3 separate regions of the Homo sapiens genome follow, and all the other regions are linked to region 2. Evidence: promoter capture Hi-C in human tissues and cell types (Jung and others, 2019). All regions are on one chromosome and are shown on one strand. The core of a region is centred on a gene start or on the middle of the fragment in contact, and the rest is flanking DNA. Distances in the headings are between cores, read along the strand shown.

The links. The method cuts DNA at HindIII sites, captures the fragments that hold promoters and counts their contacts. A contact is called where the count stands out against the background at its distance.
Region 1: a fragment that was not itself captured here is called in contact with the fragment with the promoter of UQCRC2 in region 2 in 1 of the 25 tissues and cell types used here (spleen).
Region 3: a contact is called between a fragment that was not itself captured here and the fragment with the promoter of UQCRC2 in region 2, in 1 of the 25 tissues and cell types used here (spleen).

The regions. Positions count from the first base shown.
Region 1 is chr16:22,277,717-22,281,524 of GRCh38, reverse strand. EEF2K (eukaryotic elongation factor 2 kinase) reads right to left here. Exons shown (of 18, transcript NM_013302.5): 17 at 1,149-1,327. Among named protein-coding and RNA genes, the nearest start is that of TRL-AAG2-4, 18 kb to the left of the region's middle. The HindIII fragment of the contact is 8,071 bases long and covers 1-3,808 here.
Region 2 is chr16:21,951,698-21,955,108 of GRCh38, reverse strand. It overlaps UQCRC2 (ubiquinol-cytochrome c reductase core protein 2), which reads right to left and starts at 1,748. Exons shown (of 14, transcript NM_003366.4): 1 at 1,653-1,748. The coding sequence starts at 1,685. RefSeq lists enhancers at 1,406-1,455, 1,466-1,635, 1,150-1,867, 1,956-2,415. The HindIII fragment of the contact is 13,220 bases long and covers 1-3,411 here.
Region 3 is chr16:21,636,866-21,640,794 of GRCh38, reverse strand. All of the region lies in intron 4 of METTL9 (methyltransferase 9, His-X-His N1(pi)-histidine), which reads right to left. IGSF6 (immunoglobulin superfamily member 6) reads left to right here. Exons shown (of 6, transcript NM_005849.4): 6 at 1-1,245. Among named protein-coding and RNA genes, the nearest start is that of IGSF6, 14 kb to the left of the region's middle. The HindIII fragment of the contact is 5,696 bases long and covers 1-3,929 here.

The DNA of each region.
Region 1 (3,808 bases), core at 540-3,039, 330 kb before region 2:
TCACATCTGTAATCCAAAGACTTTGGGAAGCCAAGGCAGCAGATTGCTTGAGGCTAGGAGTTCAAGACCAGCCTGGGCAACATAGCAAGACTCTGTCACTACAAAGAACTTTTAAAAATTGGCTGGGTGTGGAAGCAAGTGCCTGTAGTCCCAGCTGCTTGGGAGGCTGAGGCAGGAGAATTGCTTGAGCATAGGAGTTCCAGGCTGGAGTGAGCTATGATTGTGCCACTGCACTCCAGCCTGAGTGACACAGTGAGATTCTATTTCAAAGAAAAAAGAAAGAAAGAAAAGGAAAGGAGGCCAGGCATGGTGGCTCACACGTATAATCCCAGCACTTTGGGAGGCTGAGGCGGGCAGATCACCTGAGGTCAGGAGTTCAAGACCAGTCTGGCCAACATGGTGAAACCCCATCTCTACTAAAAACAGAAAAATTAGCTGGGTGTGTGCCTGTAGTCCCAGCTATGCAGGAGGCTGAGGCACAAGAATCACCTGAACCTGGGAGGTGAAGGTTGCAGGGAGCAGAGATGGCCCACTCCAGCCTGGGCTACAAGAGTGAAACTCTGGGCCAGGTGTGGTGGCTCACGCCTGTAATCCAGCACTTTGGGAGGCCGAGGTGGGCCGATCACTTGAGGTCAGGAGTTCGAGACCAGCCTGGCCAACATGGCAAAACCCTGTCTCTACTAAAAATACAAAAATCAGCTGTGCATGGTGGCACACCTGTAATCCCAGCTACTCAGGAGGCTGAGGCAGGAGAATCGCTGGAACTCGGGAGGTGGAGGCTGCAGTGAGCCAAGATTATGCCGTTGCACTCCAGTCTGGGCTATAGAGCGAGACTCCGTCTCAAAAAAAAAAAAAAAAAAAGAAAGAAAGGAAAGGAAAACCCCCCTACTAAACTATATACTTTAAGATGGTGAATTTTGTTATGAAAATCTCAATTCAGTTTTTAAAATTGCAAAAACCCCCTACAAAGCCGTAATATATAACCATTAAAATAACAATGTTCATCTTCATACTAGCTCCATAAATTCCCCTCCCTGGAAGAAGATTCAGCCTGTCATCTTGTCATAAATAACTCCCAGTGGAATGGAAATTAGGTTCCTCCCTGCCCAGCCCTGTTGCAGCCCAGGGGCAGGTCTGCCAGGCCCTACCTGATCTCTGCGGGTCCTTCTCCAGCCCGTAGCCTCCTGTGAACAGCATCTCGGCCTCCCTGGCCAGCATCATGTACCGGGGCTCGTCCTGCATTCCGTCGTACTCACCGCCCTCATCACAGTCCGTCATCTCCAGGGCAGTGTTGTACCAGTGCAGGGCCTCTAGCCAGTCTTGGCACCTTGCCAGGAGATACAGAGGGAAAGGTGGAGGTTACCATGGCAACAGGGTGGCAGGAGGAGGGCCTTCCAGCAGGAGGGGCAAGTCAGGGATCCCAGCAGGGCCACCACCTATGGTTCACGACCTATCTTGTCCAAGGCCAATACATCTATGAGGCACCTTCATACTGTGATATTCATTCACTCATTCATTCATTCATTTTTGAGACAGAGTCTTGCTCTGTTGCCCAGGCTGGAGTGCAGTGGTGCAATCTCGGCCCACTGCAGCCTCCGCCTCTCAAGTTCAAGCAATTCTCCTGTCTCAGCCTCCTGAGTAGCTAGGATTACAGGTGCACGCCACCACACCCAGCTAATTTTTTGTATTTTTAGTAAAGACGGCATTTCACCACGTTGGCCAGGCTGGTCTCGAACCCCTAACCTCGAGTGATCCACATGCCTAGGCCTCCCAAAGTGCTGAGATTACAGGCATGAGCCACTGTGCTCGGCCAATATTTATTAAGAGAGCAGTTGACCAGCCCAGGCAACGTAGAGAGACCGTGTCTCTACAAAAAAACAAAAACACAACAAAAAAACAGTGACTATAGTCAAAAATAATGTAATTGTATATTTTAAAATAACTAAAAGAGTATAAAGAAATTGTTTATACCACAATGAATAAATGCTTGAGATGATGGATATCCCATTTATCCTGATGTGATTATTACACATTCCATGCCCATATCAAAATAGCTCATGTAACCCATATACACACTTACTATGTACCCACAAAAATTAAAAAATACAATAAACACACAAAAAGCTGGGTGTGGTGATGGACACCTGTAGTCCCAGCTACTCCGGAGGCTGAGGTGGGAGGATAGCTTGAGCCCAGGAGTTAGAGGCTGCAGTGAGCTATGATCATGCCACTGCACTCCAGCCTGGGCAATAGAGTATAACCCTGTGTTAAAAAAAAAAAAAAAAAAAGAGGAGTCAAGTTGCTTTCCTTAATAAAATCAGTATATTACAACAATTTTCCCATAGATGAAAGTAAAGGGCAGCTTAGCTAGGACACCCCCTTGAGGAAGGGGCCCATTTTTACAGTCTACACAGAGGCAGCCATGAGCTAGCATTAGCAATGCCTGAGTGTCCTAGCTAAGCTGCCCTCTGACTTGTAGAGAAGTGGATTGGGGGCGGGGTCCTCTGCAGAGGCCTCTAGAGCCATCTGCACTAATGGCAATCACCGTATGCTCTGCTGTGCGGGACAGCTGTGAATTTTGTTATGTAAAATTGCCTCCAGCACAATGCAGAACTCACCCCAGAATAGTTGAGTCTCCACTTCCAGCTCTGCCCGTCGACCCTCAACTCCTCCTACTGCAGCCCATGTATGGCCAAACCAGCCAGGGCACACAAAGTTTCCAGCCAAACCCACGCACCACAGAATACACAGCAAACAGGGCGGAGGGCTCTTTTTCTTTGGGTGTAATCCGTGTGAGTAACTATTTATAGTATATCAGGAAAGAGCAAATACAGCGACACAGGTAAGAAGGCCTGTGGGTCTCGTGAAACATTCCAGAAGCAATAGGTCTGATGACTTGCTGTCCCTGCCTTGCTGCCACAGTGCCCTCTGCGGCCCTGTCTGACAGGCGCTGCCCTCCAGGACGGTCTCCTGTTTGTCTACCTTTGCACCAGGCTCACCGGCTGCCATCCATTCCCCAACGATGCCTGCTCCTGCCTGCTCTGTGGCCCTTGCACCCGCTGTTCCCTCACCTTGGAAGATTCTTCCTCCAACTCTTTCTGCACCTGGCTCCTTGCTCTGGTTGGAACGTGTGTCCCCTCCAAAACCCATGTTGAGATTTGCTTGCCATTGTGAGGTATTAGGAGTTGGGATCTTTGAGAGGTGATTGGGCTTTGATGGTTCTGCCCTCATGAATGGATTTCTGCCAGTATGAGGAAAGTGGATTTGTTATAAAAGGGCGAGTTCAGCCCCCTTTTGCTCTCTCTTTTTTCTTTTCTTGAGATAGCGTTTCACTCTGTTGCCCAGGCAGGAGTGCAGTGGCACAATCATAGCTCACTGCAGCCTCAAAGTCCTGGGATCCAGCAATCCTCCCATTTTAACCTCCTGAGTAGCTGGGATGACAGGGGCATGTCACCACGCCTGGCTAATTTTTAAAATTTTTTTATAGAGACACACTCTTACCAGGTTGCCCAAGCTGGTCTTGAACTCCTGGACTCAAGTGATTTTCCTGCCTCAGCCTCCCAAAGTGCTGGGATTACAGGCATAAGCCACCGTGCTTGACCTGCTCTCCCTCTCCTTCTCTTCTGCCAGGTGATGACACAGCAAGAAGGCCCATGCAAGACGCTGGCATACTGATATTAGACTTCCCAGCCTCCAGAACTAAGAGCCAGCAAATTTCTGTTCATGAGAAATTCCTCAGCCTCAGATATTCTGTTACCAGCACAGAACAGGCTAAGACACTCATCATCCCTCCAATCTCAGCTCACAT
Region 2 (3,411 bases), core at 499-2,998:
AAATGTGCCCAAATAGTAACTCTTTGTTGGTAATTTTTTTTTTTTTTTTTTTTTGAGACGGAGTCTCGCTCTGTCGTCTAGGCTGGAGTGCAGCGGTGCGATCTCGGCTCACTGCAACCTCCGCCTCCTGGGTTCAAGAGATTCTCCTGCCTCAGCCTCCTGAGTAGCTGGGATTAGAGGCGCCCACCACCACCACGCCCGGCTATTTTTTTTTTTTTTGTATTTTTAGTAGAGACGGGGTTTCACCATGATGGCCAGACTGGTTTCGAACTCCTCATCTCAAGTGATCCGCCTGCCTCTGACTCCCAAAGTGCTAGGATTACAGGTGTGAGCCATCGCGCTCCGCCGGTAATGTGCTTCTTAATCGTCCCATTCAAATCAGCAAATTATCCTAGTAACTGTCATGCAATCTTCTAAATTATTTTGTTCTAATAACAAGATATATCTAAGTTTATTCTCCTATATAAAGTGCTAAAATTAGACACATAAATAATTGCTTTCAAGTTTACTGCAATTTGTTTACTTTGGGCCTCTCCAACTGTTTTCTCTGAGCTTTTTCTGTTGCAAAATAGAATGGAGAAGGAAATGTTGGGGTCTTTTGCCAATCTAACCGTGCTTCCCTCCAAGGGTAATCACTGGTGTGTCTAGGTATACCTGGAAGGTTAATGCAATTACAGCCTAAATCGATATAGCCCACAGCACATTTATGTAAACATAAAGCATAAGAACATTCCATGCCCAGGTCTGGTCTTCTGCATCTCCATCTAGGGGGGTTTCTCAACACAGGTACTACTACTGGCACTTGGGGCTAGATAATTCTTTGCTGTAAGGCGAAGTTTAGCAGCATCCCTGGCCTCTCCATGCCAATAGCACCCTCCTTACAAGTTGTTGCAACTAAATATGTCTCCAAACATCGCCACCGGTTCCCTGGGGGCATTCTGTCCCTCGCTATGATTTTTTAAGTGTTCCCCCTTACCCCTCTTAATAACCACTGTCCCACAGTGATATAACCCTGATGTGTGAGTTTTCCCCAAGTGACAGCTATGTTTAATTTAGGCTTGAAGGGGAAACTTAATTAAGGAGCTTTTGAGGACAAACAGAGACGTCTTGGAGGAACCGTCTAACATACGATCAAGAAAAGCAACGTTAGACTACTAAGACACCATAGTATTTAACAATGAAGTTCCAGGTACTGTAATAAGTGTTCTATCTGCATTAGCTCCTTTCTTATACTTTTATTCGCTGGGGAAACTGACGCTCCGTGATAAACCAAGGAGCAGAGGCTGCAGCGGATAAAGTGAAGGTGGGGGGCTAAGTGCGCCGTCCTCCCGCTCCCCCTGGGTTTCACGGTCTCTTTCTCCAGCACTTGAGTACCGGAGTGACCTTCAGAAGTCTCTCCAAGGACTCGCTTCAACTCCGCTCTCACGTCCTGCCCCTCTCTTCAGGTTTCCCGGTGTTAGGTCTCTTGTGCTCACAGCATGAGCTGGGCCTCCAAAGCCTGACCCAGTCTGCAGCCCACTTGGCCCGCAGGGTTCAGCTGAAGGGCAGACCGAATCCCAAGGCCCAGACCCCAGACCAGACACCTCCGCCTCGTATCACCTTGTCGACACACTGCTCCCCAGCCCTTTCCCAAACCCGCCACCTGAGCTCACCGAGAAAGAGCCGGCTCTGGTTAGTAGCTTCATGATTCAAGATTGTTCTGACACACGGTCACTGCCGGATTAAAGGAAAGCAAGATGGTGGCGGAGGCCGGGAGTTTCCCAGCGTTCCCCGCTAACACTTTCCCACGTCCCCTTCGTGAGGTACTCTCTATACTGCCGCGCTCTACTGCTCTCTTTATAAGGTTGGACCAGTCCAATTCCTCCAAGACTCAGAATAGGGAGACGCACAATTTCCCAAGTAAATATATGCAGAGAATAATGTACGTCACTGCTTTTTGCGTTCTTCTCCTAGCCTGAATATCCAGTATGCACCCCTTTTCTAAGTACGTCTGCAGCAGCCTGTCACAACTCCCCCCGCTATCTTGGGCTCTTCCGCTCAGCATTGTCCAATGGGACGCGCCTCTCTTGGGACTCCGCATGCGCCCTCCGGGATGACACCTGCACTGGAGGCCCTGGGTTTCCGCGTTCCTGGACGTTGGAGGCTTCAGGAGATTCCTGCCACTCCACCTTTCTGCAGAGGTATTGGGTATCGAAGCCCGGCGTAGTTGCCTCTCGCTGGGTGAAGTCCTTACTGGATCTTTAGCTCCGTGAAACAGGGGCCTCGTTCAACGTATTCGCCGCTGTGTCCCCCAGAGCAGGCCCGGGACACACCGGGAGGGTCAGCAACCTCGGGGAATCATCACAAGGCTTTTGGTCTCGTGGAATTTACGTCCTAGGCTGGGGCTACATAGAATATAAAAACTTAGCTATAGTTTTTGTGTTAGGAAAATAGAAATGTTTTGGATAGTAGGTGTGTTATGTGAGCCGAAACCGGCAGTTGGAGAAAGTCAGTCACGTGACGACTTGGGGCGGGGGCGTTCACTCCGGTCCTCAGCGAGTGTTAACCCAGAAAGTGCCTTGAGCTAGGCACTATGCCAACGCGAGAGGCGTGGTCCCTGCCCTTTAGGGACTTTAGAGTTTCGTACCTTGCTACGTTGCTTGGTTGGGAAACCGACAGTATCAGCATCAATATCATTTAGGAGTTGATTAGAAATGTATGAACTCCAGGTCCCATATTGGATCCGAATCGGTGTTTTTACAAGATCCTGGGATGACTTCGTATGCACAATAGTTTCAGAAAGGCTGGTGGTGTAGACGTTACAAGGCATAGGCAAATGTACTTTCTTTTTGCCTTGTGTCTGAATTGCTCCAGGCCTACAACGGACTTGGGCTCTCTAATTAAGATCTGGGCATTAAGAACCTGGCACCAACCCAATTTCTGTGCCTGCTGGGGACGCCCTCAACCCAATTCATACCACACAGTTTCCCCACATGTGGTAGATTTAACACTAGTGGTGCGTGAGATGATTTTAAGTTGGTACATAGATGAACACTTCCATTTTTTCCTTTTAAAAATTTGTATAAATTTAAGGGGCGCAAGTACAGTTATGTTATATGGATATATTGCAGTAATGGTGAAGTCTGGGCTTTTAGTGTACCCATCACCCGAATAATGTACATGGTACCCATTAAGTACTTTCTCATCGTTCACCTCTCTCCCACCCCTCCACCTTTCGGAGTCTCCATTGTCTGTCATTCCACACTCTATGTCCATGTGTACACCTTATTTAGCACTGTTCCATTTTAATAATATATTTATTTTGATTATGGCAAGCAATGCTAGTAGTGAATTTCCTCTTTAAGTACATTTATAAAATAATAAAAGTTGGTGTAAAAACGTTAAGTAACTTGATGATACGGAGATACAGCA
Region 3 (3,929 bases), core at 394-2,893, 310 kb after region 2:
TTTTTTCTTTTCTTTTTTTTTTTTTTTTGAGACAGAGTCTCGTTCTGTTGCCCAGGGTGGAGTGCAGTGGTGCAATCTCGGCTCACTACAACCTCCACCTCCCGGGTTCATGCCATTCTTCTGCCTCAGTTTCCCAAGTAGCTGGGATTACAGGTACGCACCACCACGCCCGGCTAATTTTTTTTTTTTTTTTTTTTTGTATTTTTAGTAGAGACGGGGTTTCACCATGTTGGCCAGGCTGGTCTCAAACTCAAGACCTCAGATGATCTGCCTGAAATGGCCTCCCAAAGTGCTGGGATTACAGGCGTGAGCCACCGCGCACAGTCTATAATACTGATTTTTAACCAATTTAGGAGGGAAATGTCAGATAGGAGGCATGGTACAAGGATATTTATGGAATTCATTACCACTTCACTAAGAAAACATGATATAAATTGTCCTTTGAAAGCTACTTTGGTATAAAAAAATCTAAAGTGCCCATAAGTATGCATTCATTATTAGACACAAATTACAACCTTACAACCTACTATGTTTATTTCATTAAAGTGTCTCTTTTAGGCCGGGTGTGGTGGCTCACGCCTGTAATCCCAACACTTTGGGAGGCTGAGGCAGGTGAATCATGAGATCAGGAGTTCGAGACCAGCCTGAACAACATGATGAAACCCGTCTCTACTAAAAATACAAAAAAATTTAGCGGGGTTTGGTGGCACACACCTGTAATCCCAGCTATTTGGGAGGCTGAGGCAGGAGATCACTTGAACCCAGGATGCGGAGGTTGCAGTGAGCTGAGATCACGCCACTGCACCCCAGCCTAGGTGACAGAGCAAGACTGTCTCAAAAATAAATAAATAAATAAATAAATAAATAAAATAAAGTGTTTCTTTTAAACTGGTATTGCCTAAGGTGTATTCTTTATAAAACTTAGAATTGTTAAATATTTTAAGATTCCTTTGAAAGTGTTTTTGCATTGATGGTTTAAATCAGTGATATCAAACTTTCCTGATCCTATGTGCCCAGAAAAATGGGCAGGGGAAAGGAGGCAGCATGGAACCTCATTTTTTTGTGTGTATCTGTGTGTACACGTGAGTGCACATGTGTATATGTGTGGGGCCACATGTGTTTTGTATACGGTATATGCATGAAAATGTACCTTTGTACCTTATACACAAAAACAAATTAAACAATGGCATAAGCAGCAATATAAATAAAAAATGCTAATACTTTCCTGCCATATTCCAAAATAAACTGTCTTGTGTACTCTGCAGTGTGTACTTCCCCACTCTGAGACCACTAGCTCAGGTAAAGTAATGAGCTTCTAAGCCAGACTGCAAAAAAGGGCAAGCACTAATACCATCGAAATGAACAGAAGTGTTGAATTCGATCATTTGCTTTTCATTTCTGGGAGTCATTACATTTTGGTACTGAATTCCAGGACTGAAAATACACTGTTCATTGTCTAACCAGGAGACAAAATCCCTCAGATAAACTAGTATTTGACTCACAATATGCCTTTCCCATGTAAGCAAGGACCGTGTTTCAAAGATTGATTTTGAAGCTGAAATACGGAATATACTTTCGCAAAGAGTTCCATTCCTCTAGGTCTTATATAAGAATATCTGGTGTATACACAGTATTCATTCATTTATTCATCTATCTCACCAAAAGTATATATTTTCAAACTTCAAAATAAGTTTTATTTGGGAAGAGTTTCTTATTTTGTTAAAGCTACAAGCAAGTTTCTTTCCCAATTACACTTCTAGAGATCTTAGCAGTTTCAGAGATTTCAGTGTTCAAAAGTATATTTCAAAATTAACAACAAAACCAAACCCACACCAAAAGGAAATAGCTTTGAGATTAGTTTGGGATGTACAGTCATTGATTTCAGGCGCCAACACTATTTACTGAGTGCTACACTATACAATCAAAGGCCTCTTTTGCAAACTATCCTCGGGTCATACTGAACTTGCTCCACCCCCACACAAACCTTACTCACACCTTCATGCTTTTGCACATGCTGTTCCCCTCAGCCTGGTAAAATGCTTCAGACTACAAACACAGCTCACCTCAACATGAAACCTTCCCTAACTCACCCACAGGCTAACAGATCTATTCGTCTCTAATTCTTCAGTACTTAGTTTGACATATTTCTTACCACAATTTCCTGCCATTATCTGTTTCTATCTATATTGTGTACTATTCTGTGTTTTAAGAGCAAAAGCGTGATTCTCATTTATCTTTATATTTCCACTTGGTACACAGTAGGCCCTCAAATGCCTTCTATAAATGCAATTGAACAATGTTTCTATAGAAAAATGTTCCTTCAGCATTTAAATTGAGATATGTAGCATACTTCAGTCCCTCACCATGAAGCTTCACCCCTTTCCATAAAGACCATTCAACAAACCCCAACAGTACTAATTGTCCTGCTATCTGAGCATCCAGAAAAGAATTAAACTGCAACTTTTTCTTTCTTCTTGAGATGGAGTTTTGCTCTTGACGCTCAGGCTGGAGTACAATGGCGTGATCTCGGCTCACTGCAACCTCTGCCTCCAGGGTTCAAGTGATTCTCCTGCCTCAGCCTCCTGAGTAGCTGGGATTATAGGCATCTGCCACCATGCCTGGCTAATTTTTGTATTTTTAGTAGAGATGGGGTTTCACTCTGTTGGCCAGGCTGGTCTCAAACTCCTGACCTCAGGTGATCTGCCCACCTTGGCCTCCCAAAATGCTAGGATTACAGGCATAAGCCACCGCACCCAGCCTAAGCTGTAACTTTCTGTTTAGATTTGGGTTTCCTATGACAATTAAAAAAGAATTAATACTGAAACAACTTGTTTTACTTCGAGCTGCAAAAACAAATTACCATAGACTGAGTGGCTTATTGAGAGGTGACAATGTGCTAGCAGCCCTCGCTCGCTCTCAGCGCCTCCTCGGCCTCGGTGTCCGCTCTGACCGCACTCAAGGAGCACTTCAGCCCGCCGCTGTGCTGTGGGGACCCCTCTCTGTGGCTGGCCGAGGCCGGACTGGCTCTCTGCTCGCGGGGAAGTGTGGAGGGAGAGGCACGGGCAGGAGCCGGGCTGCGCGCAGCGCACGCGGGCCAGCACAGGTTCCGGGTGTGTACGGGCTCAGCAGGCCCAGCACTCGGTGCCACTGGCTGGTGCCTGCTGGGCTTAATCAGGGGACAAGCTCCCTCTGGGCTGCTGGAGTGCCCAGGCTAGGTGCCACAAAGTCCCGCAGCCAGTGCCATTGAGAGGTGAAGCTGGCTGGGCTTCTGAGTCGGGTGGGGACCTGGAGAACTTTTCTGTCTAGCTAAAGGTTTGTAAATGCACCAATCAGCACTCTGTGTCTACTTAAAGGTTTGTAAACGCACCAATCAGTGCTCTGTGTCTAGCTAATGGTTTATAAATACACCAATCAGCGCTCTGTGTCTAGCTAGCCGGGTAGCAGACTTGGAGAACTTGTGTCTAGCTAAAGGATTCTAAACGCACCAATCAGCACTCTGTGTCTAGCTAAAGGTTTGTAAACACACAAATCAGCGCTCTGTCAAAACGGACGAATCAGTGCTCTGTAAAATGGACCAATCAGCTCTCTGTAAAATGGACCAATCAGCAGGATGTTGGTGGGGCCAGATAAGGGAATAAAAGCAGGCCAACAGAGCCAGCAGCAGCAACCCGCTCGGGTCCCCTTCCATACTGTGGAAGCTTTGTTTTTTCACTCTTCGCAATAAATCTTGCTGCTGCTCACTCTTTGGGTCCGTGCCACCTTTAAGAGCTGTAATACTCACTGCAAAGGTCTGCAGCTTCACTCCTGAAGTCAGCGAGACCAAGAACCCACCAATTCCAGACACATTTTGGCGACCCAGATGGGACTATCACCTATCGCCAAGTGGTGAGACTATCGCCTATCGCCAAGCGGTAAGTACCATCGGACCC